Regions from separate parts of the Homo sapiens genome. Here region 1 is linked to region 2. The links are contacts of gene promoters, found by promoter capture Hi-C in blood cells and fetal thymus (Javierre and others, 2016). All regions are on one chromosome and are shown on one strand. The core of a region is centred on a gene start or on the middle of the fragment in contact, and the rest is flanking DNA. Distances in the headings are between cores, read along the strand shown. Region 1 has its middle 5.9 kb from the start of MIR3166. Region 2 holds the start of GRM5-AS1 (GRM5 antisense RNA 1).

Region 1 (7,101 bases), core at 420-2,919, 320 kb before region 2:
CTTTCCTCTGCTGCTGTACATTTTCCCACAAGACAAAGGCAATCCAAGAACATTCTTTTTGGAGGACAAACCTTCATGTACTCCCCTTCCTTGCTTTGAACTTATTTTCTACACTCAGAACTAGGCTGCAGACAGGGAGCCAGGTAGCCAGGGACAAACTATAAACTGGATCAAGCCAGACAGTGAATAGATGGAAAGGATATTATCAAGCAGCTAGACCATTCTTGCCTCCTCTTTCATTCAACCCTGTCCCCTGCAATTATGATGCTTCTTCAGAACCTATCTTCCCCAACCTGAACATATACCTGTCAAGATGGCTTAGGATTATCAGGAGGATCTCAGCTTTTTCTGACACAAAAGATCCAGTGCTTCCTCCCCATGGAGAGAACAGCTGTGCCATTCGTCCCCCTCCCAGCAGCCACACTGCACCATGGAAACCTGTTCTCCACAGTAATTCTCAAAACATCTCTGGTGATGTTTTGACAAGCTTACTACCCTCAAATTGCTAAACCACAGCACATCTTCTCACCAAGGTCGGGAAGGCTGATGACTCAAGTTTGTAAAAGGTGTGTGAGACCACAAAGTGCTCAGAATTCAAGCCAAGAATGATATCCCAGAAGGCACAGCATTAGGTTTCTCTTAGTCTCCATTCCCTTTCTGTCCAATGTGGGTACTTAGTCTTATGAAATGGAAAAACTACAATGATTGCAAATTGCTTTGCAAATGTAAACTTGAAGGGACAAACCCTCATGTTTTCCTCCTAGAGCTGCTGTGTTTGGTGAGCCCCTGTGAAGTCACATTATTTGCTTTTGCCATTAAGAGAGCCATGGGGAGTTATTCATTAGCTTATGTGAGCTTTTAATTATTGCTCTGAAGAAATATGTAAATGACTGCAAGATGGGGTCCCAAGGGCTCTGTTATAGAAAAGGTAATCTAATTTTTCTTAGATTAATACAAGAAATATATCTTACAACAGATGAATTTTACTCTGCAAAAGGCCTGGAAGAAATGACCATATATTTTATCATTCAAACTATGACTCTTGAGAGTGAAAGGGGGCACTATGAATAATTACACCAAACAACAGGAACAAGCCAGGACTTTCCTAAAGAATATTCATTCCTAAAGAAGAGGGAGAAGTTGAGGCTCTCAAATGAGATCTACAGCTATAGGGGCTTTGGAAAATTCTCCTAAACCACAATTTTAATAAATAGGTCTGCCAAGTTAAAGTTGCAGCTTATTTCTTTCTTGTCTTCAAAAAGTTCTCTCTTTACCCACTAGGCTTGTCTGAAACCTGTGCTAACTTGCAATTTGAGTCATCTAGTATTGATTCAGGATTGCAGCAGATGTCTAGAAGTAGGAAGCAACTTTTGGGTTATTTGGAGAGAGGCCAAGATGGATTCTGTATGGGATGTTCTTGAAATAAATACTCTTCAGTCTATGAGAAATTTCTGGCTAGATTTTTTTCCAGAAAAAAAAAGACTACAATAGGATATTTACGGGTTATCATGAGAAACTGATTGTAAGTGCATTTTTTAACCCACCAGTAGTATGAATCAAGAAAACCAGAGTATGACCTAAACCATTTTCAGCAGTGTATTTATCACCAACTAAAATTATGTGCCTTAGCTGTGCCAGACAGGCATGGCTGAATCGGGGTGTATTTTTCTACTAACACATCTAACATGGATGAGTGGAAATAAGCTATGGAATGGCCGAAAGGCAAGCATCTGAGAACATGGAGAAAAATGATTCTGTATGTACTAGAATTTCAACTTCCTTATCCTGGGAACCTACAATGAGCTAAGCCCTTTATCTTGGTAAGTTTATTTGATCTTCACGACCACTCTGTAGCAAGTATCTTCACTTTATAATGAGGGAAATAGGGCTCAAAGAATTTAAATAATTTTTCCAAAGTCACAGATATGGAGTGACAGCATGAGAATCGTAACCAGTAATTCCTAAATCTGTGCTTTTTCTACTATACCACACTCCTTTAGCATGTGATAAATTCCAGGTCCAGGCTTCTACTGTAGCTTTGTTTCTGCTATGCTACTAAATATTCAGGCTATAAAGAAAAGAGATTGATTCTATTTCCATTTGATAAAGTCTTAACTATGCAGGGAAACAGCCAATAAAGGAAGAAAAGAAAAATCTATGATTCAAAGATAAAAGGATATATCCCATAATCTCTCACCAACTCGGGCAGAAAGTCAACACAAGTAAAAGTGGCATGCTGTGCATTTGTGGGGAGAGGTCTGACCCAGTGCACATAGAGAGCATATACAAGGAATCTACTTCTGTTGCTCTCAGAGAAGGCGATAGGATAGTACTGAGGCTGTACAGTGAATGAACCCCTATTCCATAATGGGTGATGACAGAGAGACTGGTAGGGTCTAGCTCAGAAGGTTAACGCAAGAAAATTACTGACAGACCATCACAGCATAAACGAAGAAATATTTATGTACAAAGCATTGTAACAGAGTTTTTTGAGGATCAGGGTCAGAAGAAAGGTCTCACGTTTATCTCAAAGAGTGTATAAGATATAAGTCCCTGCCATCAAAAATGCTTCCATTCTGGTTAAAGCATCAGCATGTATACACATGACCTTCTGCCTTCCACTCTGACCTTCTTAGACTCCTTCACAACTTCCCTTCTTTTCTGCCCATCCACTAAAGTTTGCTATTCTTCATCCTTGGGACTCTGACTTTCCCTGCTTGAGCTCATCTACTCCTGTGACAATAGAGCAAATGGGGTTAGGAACTCTGGAATCAGGTGAGCTTACCTGATTTCACATTCAAGTTCTACCACTACCCAGTCATAAGAACTTTGTAAAGTAGTTTAACTTTTGCAAGCTTGTCCCTTCATGTATAAAATGAGGATAATAATTTTAACCTCCTATTTTTTTTTTGAGAAGACCAAATAAAATTCTGTGAAGTGCTTAGCATAGTGCTTGGCCCAGGATATGCACTGAAAAGAACATGTTGTTAAACTATCAAATGTCTGCTGATGATTTCTATATCTGTATTTAAAACACAACCTTACTCCTGCATTCCATAAACTTGTTCCAACTGCCCGTTGGGCATTTCTACCAGGCTTTCTGGCAGACAGTTTAAATGCAACATGTGCAAAACTGAACTCATTATCTACCCTAACAGACTTGTTCCCTTTCCTGTATTCCTGGTTTTTGGTCAGTGGTTCCACCCTCACCAAAGTCTACCAAGCTCAAAAACTCAGTCACTCTTGATTCCTCTCTCTTTGTTACCCATCTCAGACAAATTCCTGACAGCATTTCCACTACTTCACAAAATTACTATTATAACAAAAAGGTGAATATTTATGCATTATTATTGTGGAGAAAGGACCTTTGAATATTATGTGAAAGGCAGAAATAATAAAAGGAAAAAAAAAAAACTAAACGTGTAGACATTAACAATTACCAGAAGCAAGAAAAATGATACTTTCAGAATGAGAAAAATTTTACAACATTTAAGACAGGCAAAAGGAAATATACCTTATATTAAATTGTTCTAATAATTTTTTAAACACTAAATTAGATAAAGATATAAATAAGCAATTGACCACACAAGACAAACAAAAAGCCAATAATGTGAAAAGTGTATTTTTCACTAGGATAGTAATAAAAGTATGAAAATTAAGCAATAATGTAATACCATTTTTTACTTTTTAAATTGACAAATATATTTTAGTACTAAAAATATCCAATTTTGATGAGAATGTAAAAAATGGATACTATCATATGATCCTGTGGTGGGACTAACATAAGAAAAAGTTGTTAAAGGGAAATGTGGTTATATGTATCAAAAACCTTAAAATGCATGTGCCCTTTGTTAATTCCATTTTTAGGAATTTATGGTAAGGAAATCACTAAAGATGTATGTGACGATTTAGCTTTAAGAATTCCGATTGCAGTGTTGCTTATAAAAACAAAAATTCACAACTCCCTAAATACACATGAGGTTAAATATTGTAATGGTATACGTATGTGCTGGCACATTATACAGCCTTTATAAACAATGTTGAAGAAAATATTGCAGCTGGAAAAATGTTCACAATTTTTTTCATAACATTTTTAAATGGGAGGTCAACAAATCACAAAAAGTTAGAGTCCCCAATTTAGCATAAAATACATAATTTCCATTTTACACAAACATGCACACATTGTCGATGGAAAAAAGGTACAGAAAATTATGTACCCACATATTAGAGTTTATCTCTGGATAGTGAGATTATTGCTTCTTTTTTATATATTTTCCTGCTTTTCTATATTCATTTCATTTTTATGGAAATGTTATTGATATCAAAAGAAGAAAACAAAGTTAAAGTCAAATGTGTACTGAATAGGTCTTGGATGAGGATTTCCAGTGGCTCCTGTTCCAGGTTTCAGCATTCAGTGTGTAGAGACAATGAAGTTTCCTGTCTGGCCACCAAGTGCTGGGTGTTTTAGGTTTCAGTATTTTTCTAGCCAACCTTTCTCATTCTGATCACACTAATCTTATCAGCGCTGAGAGGTGTGCCCTCCTAAGGGAACCAACGCACTATTTCATGGGTGGCATGATCAGGCTGATACTCCAAAACCAGTTAGACAAGGTACTCACGCTGTCCTGGAGTGTCTCTGCCATAGTAGCCCTGGCTTAGCTCATGAAGACAAGCTCCATGTGCCTGAAAGGGAATTGACTGTCTCTTCCCAATTTGGATTGAAATTCCCACCAGGGTCACCAATATCCAAACCTTGATATCATCTTCACTTCTTTTCTGCTTGTGCCCTACTTTTCCATTTCAACACCAACTTGCAAATTCTTCTCTCCGGTGTCTCTTTCATTCATGCTGTCATTTCAGTCCCTCTTAATATCTCATCAAGTAGTTGTTCCCTAAGGACATCTTCCTGATTCAGTTTCCCCTGCTTTTTCCTATCCCTTACCACTCTCAGATCAATCTTCAAAAATAAATTACTACAAGCTGGGCATGTTGGCATCTGCCTGTAGTCCCAACTACTGGGAGGCTGAAGTGGGAGGTTCACTTTAGCCCAGGAGTTCAAGTCCAGACTGGGCAACATAGCAAGACCCTGCCTCTAAAAAGTAAAATAAAATAAAGTTACTACTGCAATAGGACACTCACTCCTCTTATCCCAACCTCTGAACTTATGTGTGAGAGGAATACATTGTTTGGTTTAACCTTTGGATGAGTTGGGTTTTCTGTTTATGCAGCCAAACCAAACCTTAAATGATAAATCTCCTTGAGTCTGAAAGAAGTCATGTCTCTGCTTAGCATGCATATATAATAGCAGTTTATATGTATGCCATTTCACCATTCTACCTCTCCCCAACATTCTTTTTGTAGATTTTGTTGCCCTCCTCTTTGACTCTGCCCATGAAATCAGAAGCATATACCCTACCAGCACAAGGTGCAGCCTGCTCCATGATACTGGCATGCTCAAGAAATGGTCCATACTTGTTTATGCCAGGCTGTATTTAATGTCTTGACTACTACAGGCACTCAGTAAGTCTTTTAATGACAATGAAAAATATGAATCATGCAAGACCATGTCTTATGTTATTGGCAACAATTTTGAGCCTGAAATGCAGTAAGCTACCTGGCATTTTGTTTTATTTATTTTATTTTATTTTTTTATAAGAGGCTTGAACTTTGCTACTGGCATCCATAAAAAGCAATGGGAAGATGAGTGCACAAAGACTGCTAGTGTGGAAGTTATTGGGCTGCATTCCCTTACTGACTCTGCCACTAATTTCAGAGTCAGCCTGATCCCTTTACTTCATACACCCTTTTAACCTCCTTTGAGTATCTTCTCTAAATTGATAGCACCTTCTCAAAAACAACCAGGTCATATGCATGAAGGGTCTTAAAGATAGGCATAATTATCCAACAACTAGTAAGTACCCTTTAAACAGTTGTTCCTCTTCTAAAAATCTGTCCCAAATAAATAATCAGGCAGTCTTTCCAAGATTTATGCACAAGATATTTAATGCAGCATTATTTTTAGTAGCAACCTAAATATTTTTCAATAGAAACTGGCTAAATAGACAATGTCATATCCATAAAATTTAATATTTTATAGCCATTAAACATCATGTTTATGAAGAATATTAATGGAATGAATATTCATGCTATTGTATTATTTGGAAAAAAGCTAAATATAAAATTACATATATATGTCATACATATATCAATTATCCAGATTTTATAAATATATGTACATGATTATACATATAACTAGAACAAACATTTTTCTTCTTTATACTTTTCTAAATTATCTAGGATATATATGGATTGGTTTTAAAATCAATGAAATTAATATGTAATTATCTTGAAAATCTTTAAGGATTTACTATTTATTTTTTATTTATTCTTGAAATTTTGAAATTTTACAGTTAACACATCTTGGTTTAAGTCACCAAGCGGTCTCTTTCATCTGGACACAGATGCTTTTCATTTATCAGAAGCATTCTTGCATTATTTCTTTGATAATTTTCTCTCTCTTTTTATTTGTTCTCAATCTCTCAAAATTTTTTTTTTTTTTTTTTTTTTTTTTTTTTTTTTGAGACGGAGTCTCGTTCTGTCGCCCAGGCGGGAGTGCTGTGGCGCGATCTCCGCTCACTGCAAGCTCCGCCTTCCGGGTTCACGCCATTCTCCTGCCTCAGCCTCCCGAGTAGCTGGGACTACAGGCGCCCGCCACTGCGCCCGGCTAATTTTTTGTATTTTTTTAGTAGAGACGGGGTTTCACCGTGGTCTCGATCTCCTGACCTCGTGATCCGCCCGCCTCGGCCTCCCAAAGTGCTGGGATTACAGGCGTGAGCCACCGCGCCCGGCCAATCTCTCAAAATTTTAAAGTCTAACGCGAGGACACCATTAAGACTTTTTAAACAATGTTTCATTCTTTTTGTCTCTGTATTCTACTTTCTGGAAGACTTGCTCAACTTGGTTTACAAAGTCTTTCATTGAAAACTTTTAATTAGCAACTTGATTTTGAAGAGATACTTAGATCTATTTATCTACTTTTTAAAAAGTGCTAGGTTCCCAAAACATAAATATACAGCTTAATCAATTAAACTTTCTTTATCA
Region 2 (6,630 bases), core at 847-3,346:
AAAAAAAAAAAAAGAATACTATAAATTGGTAACTTCCGAAGTGAAGATAGCCATTTAATTTGGAATTACTACATTTTTCAAACTTTTAAGACTCTAAGAACTTTTATGAATCACCTATTACTATTCAGCAGTTCAGAAAAGCCACAATTTATTATGTGGTTTTCACGGACATAGAATTTGTATAATTTAAAATATAACATCTATCTCATCATAGAAATCTGATAGTATGAAAATTTTTATTTTTAATGTCAATGAATAAAAATACAAGCTATACATAAATAAGCCAAAGTGTCTGATATGTATATCACATAGGTATCCTGTATATAGATCATACCTCAAAGAGACTTATGTCCTGGCAAAAATAAATGTCTTTGTCCTGGTGTAACAGTAATTTAAAACATTTATTCTAGTGGAGGTTAAGTGTTCCTGGAAACTTTTGGTTCAGGATTCTAAGAGTGGCTGGAGAAGATGAGTTTAAACATTCTCTTCATAGAACTTATTTACTAACATAATAACCTAAAAGTAATAAACAGAGTGAGATGTAATAACTGATTCTGAGTTTTAAAATACTGTGAGAGAAAATGTAAATACCAAGCTTTTGCTTAAGGAGATAACTTCATTAATATAATTCTGCCTATCTATGTGCTTACCTACCTTTCTGCCTAGCTATCATACAAAGTAAATATTTGCAAATTGTTTATGTTCTAAAACTGATCATTCATGTACAGCATAACCAAAAACTTGGCCAGCATTCAGCAGCAATTATAACAGAGGAAAAGCATTCTCTCTGTGGTGTTCAATATCAATTTACTAAGTTGTCCTTGATAGACAGTTCCAAGGTTGCATATGAGTTCAAACCTCAATAGGTTTCCTCCAGGATATATGCTTTAAGTTGGACAGGAACTTGTTAAGCTCCACAAATAACATTGATATAACAAATTTAAGCTTCCTGCTGAATATTAACTGTATACTAAATACTACATTGACACTAATAATAGCTACTATTGAGCATTTATCAGGAATGTTGAAATGATAGAAACTTCACAGATTATTGTAACTCACTTCTGCATTTAAAGCAAGAGGAACAAGTTGTAGAGAAATCAGAGTGATTTATCCAAAGTCAGTTGGTGACAGGTAAGAGATCCTGGCTTTTAATTCAATGCTATTTCTATTGCATCCGCTGGTTTTAAATGGCCTTCCATAATTTGATGGAGTCTGATAAGGCTCTTTGGATTTTTAGAAGGTAATTTCCTGTACCTGGTTTGTATATGTCACTTCATCCTCAATTTTATGTGAACATATTACCATTCATATCACGTTAGAATAAAAGATACTGAAGGGAAGAGTCTGACAAAACAGATAAAATGGCTTTCTTTGTTAAGATCAAACACATTCTGTATAATATATGTATCTACATATGTATATATATCATTATGCATTTAATACAATGTCAGAAGCATAAATCAAATATATTTTTAAATATACCTTGTTTTTCTCTTCCATACATCAAGCATCTACCTTATATTCTGCTGTTAGTTTTTCACTAATTTGTGTCCAGGGAATGTATATTTGCTCAAGAATCAGTCAAAGTAAAACTTTTTTTTTTTCTGGAAAAATTATGTAATATGCACATACATCTACACACAAACACACATATACACAGAGACACATGCAGATGGACTCAAAAGTCAAATGTCTATATAAATATGTATGTTTGTAAACACACATCTATACACACACAAATAATCTATTTTATCTGTGTGATGTTACCTCTATCAACACATATAATTATGAAACTATTTCTATAATTTGTATGTCTAGATGCATAAACAATGCATATTTCCTATATATTTTTTTAAGTACTTCTTTATGTAACAGTTGTTTGTAGATGTGTTTGGGGACAACATCTCTGGTTGGTTTGTGGTTGGTTTATATTTTCATTTAAATCTATACAGTCCACTGCTTACTTTGTAAACCCCATAATTCAAATGTATAGATCATCCAGTATTCAAGATTAATTAGTATCATGGCTCTTTTCATCTCAGAAAACACTATTAAGACAACATTCTAAACATTTGAGGGGAATAATCTTAAAATCATATTATAGGTTTTTTAATTTTTTTGAAAAGTAACTGGCTTCACAAACACCAAGTACAACATGATTTAGACAACTGAGAAACAGGCAAGTATATTTTGAAGTGCTAAAATAAAACATATTTATACAAGTACAAAGCAAAACAATGCTGATAAAAATGTTAAACTTTATGAAAAAAAATCATTTGCAGTTCACATCAAAATAATTTAACATTCTCTATTATTTTAATAGTACAAGCTGCCACAACAGAGAAAGAACAGATACACGCACACAATTTTAAAACCAAATCAGTTATAAGTGCAGAAAAAAGTAAGTACAAGCACTTTTAGCCCACACAAATCTTTTAGGATTGGCACCATCTTTCTAAAACATCTATAATCTATATAGATTTCTAATTACAACACCATCAGCAGCTGCCATTGATTTCTAGAAATACACACAATATACATAGTATATTTGTTCACATTGGGAAGATCAGTGAAATTCAACCAACTATTTTATACATGCCTCATTCTTCAATAGACAGTAGAGACTCTCCCAGGCCTCAGACCCTCTTCAAAGTGAATTCTGACTTGTCTTTATGCTTTCACTGATCTGTATTTTTTCACAGTATAAAATTGTAAATGGTAACTATAGAGATTCTGACAGCTTGAGGGTTATTAATAAGCTGTTGCTAAATGTGAACTCACATAATACCTTTGAAGTCTCCAAAACATGTACATTTTACTGGGAGACTAGCATAGGAAATGCTTTTGTTTTTTGTTATTCTTAAAAAGAGCATTTAATTCCTGGCTTGGAAGTCACAGAACTGCAGCAGAGCTATTATACAATTCATTTACAGTCAGAAATAGCTCCTAGTCTTCCTGATCACTTGCTGGTAACAGCAGTAGTTTGGGAAAGATAGTTACTTTCAAGGATTAGCACGTTTGGGGATTTGCTTTTTTTCCTTGCTTCAGTCAAATCTCTTATAATTTTTCTTTCCATACTCCCTTTCTGTTCCCCATCCCTAGCCCAGAAAGACGGTTCTTCCCAATCCAGATATGTTCTTCTTAGGCTGCCCCCACTCCTTTCCCAAAATGGAAGGATGAGTGGACTGCTTAGATTAGTCAGTATAACTTGGTTAAACCACGTCTTCTTCTTTCCATCCTGGGACATATCTCTCATTTAGGGTCACTTTGCTGAGCCTTAGCATATCCCCTTCCTTTTAGTCATGCTGGTCCCGACTGAATTATCACTGGGCACCAGGAACAGATTGTTTTGAAGGAAATTCAATGAGAATGTACCCAAATGAATTGTGAAGTTCATATCCTATAGCCCTAGAATGAATATTCAGTTCTCTTTGTACTGTAGAGTTATTACTTGGAACCTGGTATTAGAATTGGCAAAGAGACAGAGTTAGCATCATTCCAAAATAAAAGATCTCAAGAATGCATTACTAATAATCTTATGTCCAACATACAATGTATTCAATGGAGTGGCAAAAGTTATAGAAATACAGAGAAAAATATATCTTGTCCTTTTCTAATTGGATAAATCATTTTTATTATTACAGTTGATTATGATAGCATGTGGAAGTATCAGATGGCAATTTACTTGCATTAAATTTAATTTCTGATGAAGTTTTTTATAAGGTAGTGTGCTTTTTAAGAGATATGTTACTAAAAAAATAGAAAATGAATTTGACCATGAACAAAGTTTAAACATGTTCTTCAACTGGTCTAGAGTGAAACGTATTGTACTTGAGAATAAAATGAAAATCAACATAAGGATTTTATAAAACAAATTTTAAAATGTAGAGCATATCAAGAAAGGTTTTTAATACCTAAGAAGTCAAGATAGGAATCCTCAGGTGAATGCCATCCTTTTGATGAGGATCCAAAGGGTATTAACACCTCAAAAGATTTCCATTTGTTTTTCAGATAGAGGCAGACATTTGCTTTTAATGAAACCATGAAACTTAGCTAGATTTCACTTACATTTTAAAAGCCTCGGTGTAATATTTGGGATCAGGGTGCTGTGATGATGTTATTTTCAAATCTAGCATGGGAGGTTCGATTTCTTTTAAATTAATACTTTAGTACATTAATGTTAGCTTTTAATGTTTTGTATTGGGAGGTTTGACTTAAAGTTGCAAGTAAGAACAAATAGCAGAAAAGAAAACTCAAGCAGAATATTTATTAGAATTTTTTAAAGTGAAGAATGATAAATTATGCCAATGGACTGACTTCTATTTCTCAGTTTATTTTCTGTTAAGTAGATGTGAAATAAAAAAAAATACTTACCAAAGTAAGGATATTGAGCTAAAAGAAAAAGTTTTATTTATTATTCTCTCTGCCAAAATATACTTCTGCCTCACAGCACATATTTTTCATAAGGCTATCTTAAGTATAAGGCTGGGTCAACTGAACTTTAAATTTATAGGACACCTCCTCCATTTATTACTATCCTTATTTAAAAATCAAAACATTTGGTACCTGAGGATAGCTGCAATGGGAGGAAGAAAGAGATGACAGTGGATTCAGGTCTTGAACTATGAATTCTACCTATTTGAGACTATCAAAGCACACTTGTTTCTGTTATACTCTAAATCTCTTTTCTGTAGTTTTAAAAAGTGACAGTATGAAGTGCACAAAATCATATTAATCATTATTTTAAAAAAGAAAATAAGAATTGCTTTGCCTCTTTTTGGAATGGCTAAGAAAGACTGTGTGGTTAATATTCATTAAGGTTCCTCTTTTTTAGTATTTTGTATTGCTTTGAAAAATCTACATTTGTCATAGTTCATAGCTGCCCTGTTTAAGCAGCCAAGAATAGTTAAAATCACTGCTCACTGGCATAGCTAAATCTCCACTAAGCTGACTTGACACAGTTAAAATTTTCAGTGTATTAAGATTGTGTTAATCCTTTCAACAACAGTCTCTCAAATCATGACAATGTCTTCATGGGGTCTATGGACCACTCTTCCAGTGGTGGGACTCGAAAAGAACAAAGGAGCTCTTTGTGCATCAGGTTCTCAAAATAAAGGAATGAAGAAGCCCCAATGCATATTTTAATATTTTAGTTGGCAATGCAAACGCAACAGCATTCCTAAAGAGTGGCCATGTTTCTTGAAAGAGATAGCCAGGCTGGAGCTCAAGAATGATTTTTATAAAGAGAATTTCCAGCTACAATGCACCCCAGTGAGGGAATTACAAAACAGTATTCCAGAAAATATTTTTTTTGCTACTCCAGTATTGATTGGCAACATGGTGAAATAGTCAAGAAATCTTCCACTGGTTTTCTTGGTTAATGGAGGTGAATCTGAAATAAGTAGGTGGAATCCCCGATGCAGGCTTTTGGAAGAGTATTTCACAACCCAATTGGAGAGGAAAATCTCTGGTAGAAGCCCTACGTAGTACATTAGCGCAGCACTCACTATCCAGTAGTGTGTTATGCATGGGACACATTCACAACGCCTCCGTAAATACTGGACCCAAGTTACTGCTTTTCAAGGTCTTTACAGGAAAGAAAAAACAAAAAGAAAGAAAAAAGAAAGAAAAAAGTTGATGTTTTGGTCCCAGATTTTGAGTTTGTTAGAAAATGTACATTCATGTTTGGTGAATCAAAGACTCTTCTGGGAAAAGAATTAAAGTAAACAAATAAAACTTTTTACAGTTGCTTATTAACTATGCTCTTCACCCTCCGTTACGCTGTTTCACACGCACTGCTTCCCTAGAGCAAAGCACTTGGTATGGAACTGTTTGAAGAGACGCCTTGTCAGCCCTCAAAGATATCAGCCGTGTTTCTTAAAAGCCCATGTTTTCTAAGGCCACTAGAAGAAAATCTGCCAAAAGATTTGTCGTCGGTTTCTTCGTCGGTTGTCATGAGATAGCACTACTGATCTCGTGTTTCCATTAAGGGGTGCCCTTGGCATCTTCCCCCTGGGCCGTAACCAGGCGACTATGCTTGCCATTGTGTGTGTGTGAACACGGGGGGCTCCGCTCCGCACGCGCAGGCCGGCGTGCTTTCCAGGGACATTCACAACGACGAGGAGCTCTGAGTGTAATCTCTTATGATAAGAGTGTCATATTTGGGAGACGACGGGATACAGAGGGCCGACTCGGACACTGGCGAGTTGGGGGTTGTGCTCCCCGAGTCCACCGAGTCTCTGAAGGGGGACGGCGGGGTGAGAGCCACCAGCTCCTCCAGGTCTGGCTTGGCGGCCGCAGCCTCGGGACCGGCCGCGGGGCTCTCCCGGGCCGCGTCCCCAGCCGCCTGCGCCCCTGCCGCGGGCTGCGCGCCTCCCGTGACTTCGATGGCCGGCAGAGGCTGGATTTCGGCAAAGGTCGTCATGGTCGTGGGCAACTGGATCTCTTTGGGGATCAGGTAGGACGAGCAGAGCGGGGCGCCGACGCCGGGGCTGGGGGCCGCGGTGGACAGCATCATGGAGTTGAGCTCGCTGATGTTGGCCGTGAAGCGGGTGACCACACTGCTGATCTGCTCCATGAGGGAGCCCTGCGAGGAGCTGCTGCGCGCCACAGGCTCCGAGTGCAGCG

Evidence for each region. The method cuts DNA at HindIII sites, captures the fragments that hold promoters and counts their contacts. A CHiCAGO score of 5 or more calls a contact.
Region 1: a fragment that was not itself captured here is called in contact with the fragment with the promoter of GRM5-AS1 in region 2 in 2 of 17 cell types (activated CD4 T cells and monocytes); the score reaches 6.1 in activated CD4 T cells.

What each region holds. Positions count from the first base shown.
Region 1 is chr11:88,178,845-88,185,945 of GRCh38, forward strand. No RefSeq gene overlaps it. Among named protein-coding and RNA genes, the nearest start is that of MIR3166, 5.9 kb to the left of the region's middle. The HindIII fragment of the contact is 2,368 bases long and covers 486-2,853 here.
Region 2 is chr11:88,502,480-88,509,109 of GRCh38, forward strand. GRM5-AS1 (GRM5 antisense RNA 1) reads left to right here and starts at 2,097. Exons shown (of 6, transcript NR_049724.1): 1 at 2,097-6,460. It overlaps GRM5 (glutamate metabotropic receptor 5), which reads right to left. Exons shown (of 10, transcript NM_001143831.3): 10 at 2,163-6,630. The coding sequence ends at 6,113. The HindIII fragment of the contact is 8,959 bases long and covers 944-6,630 here.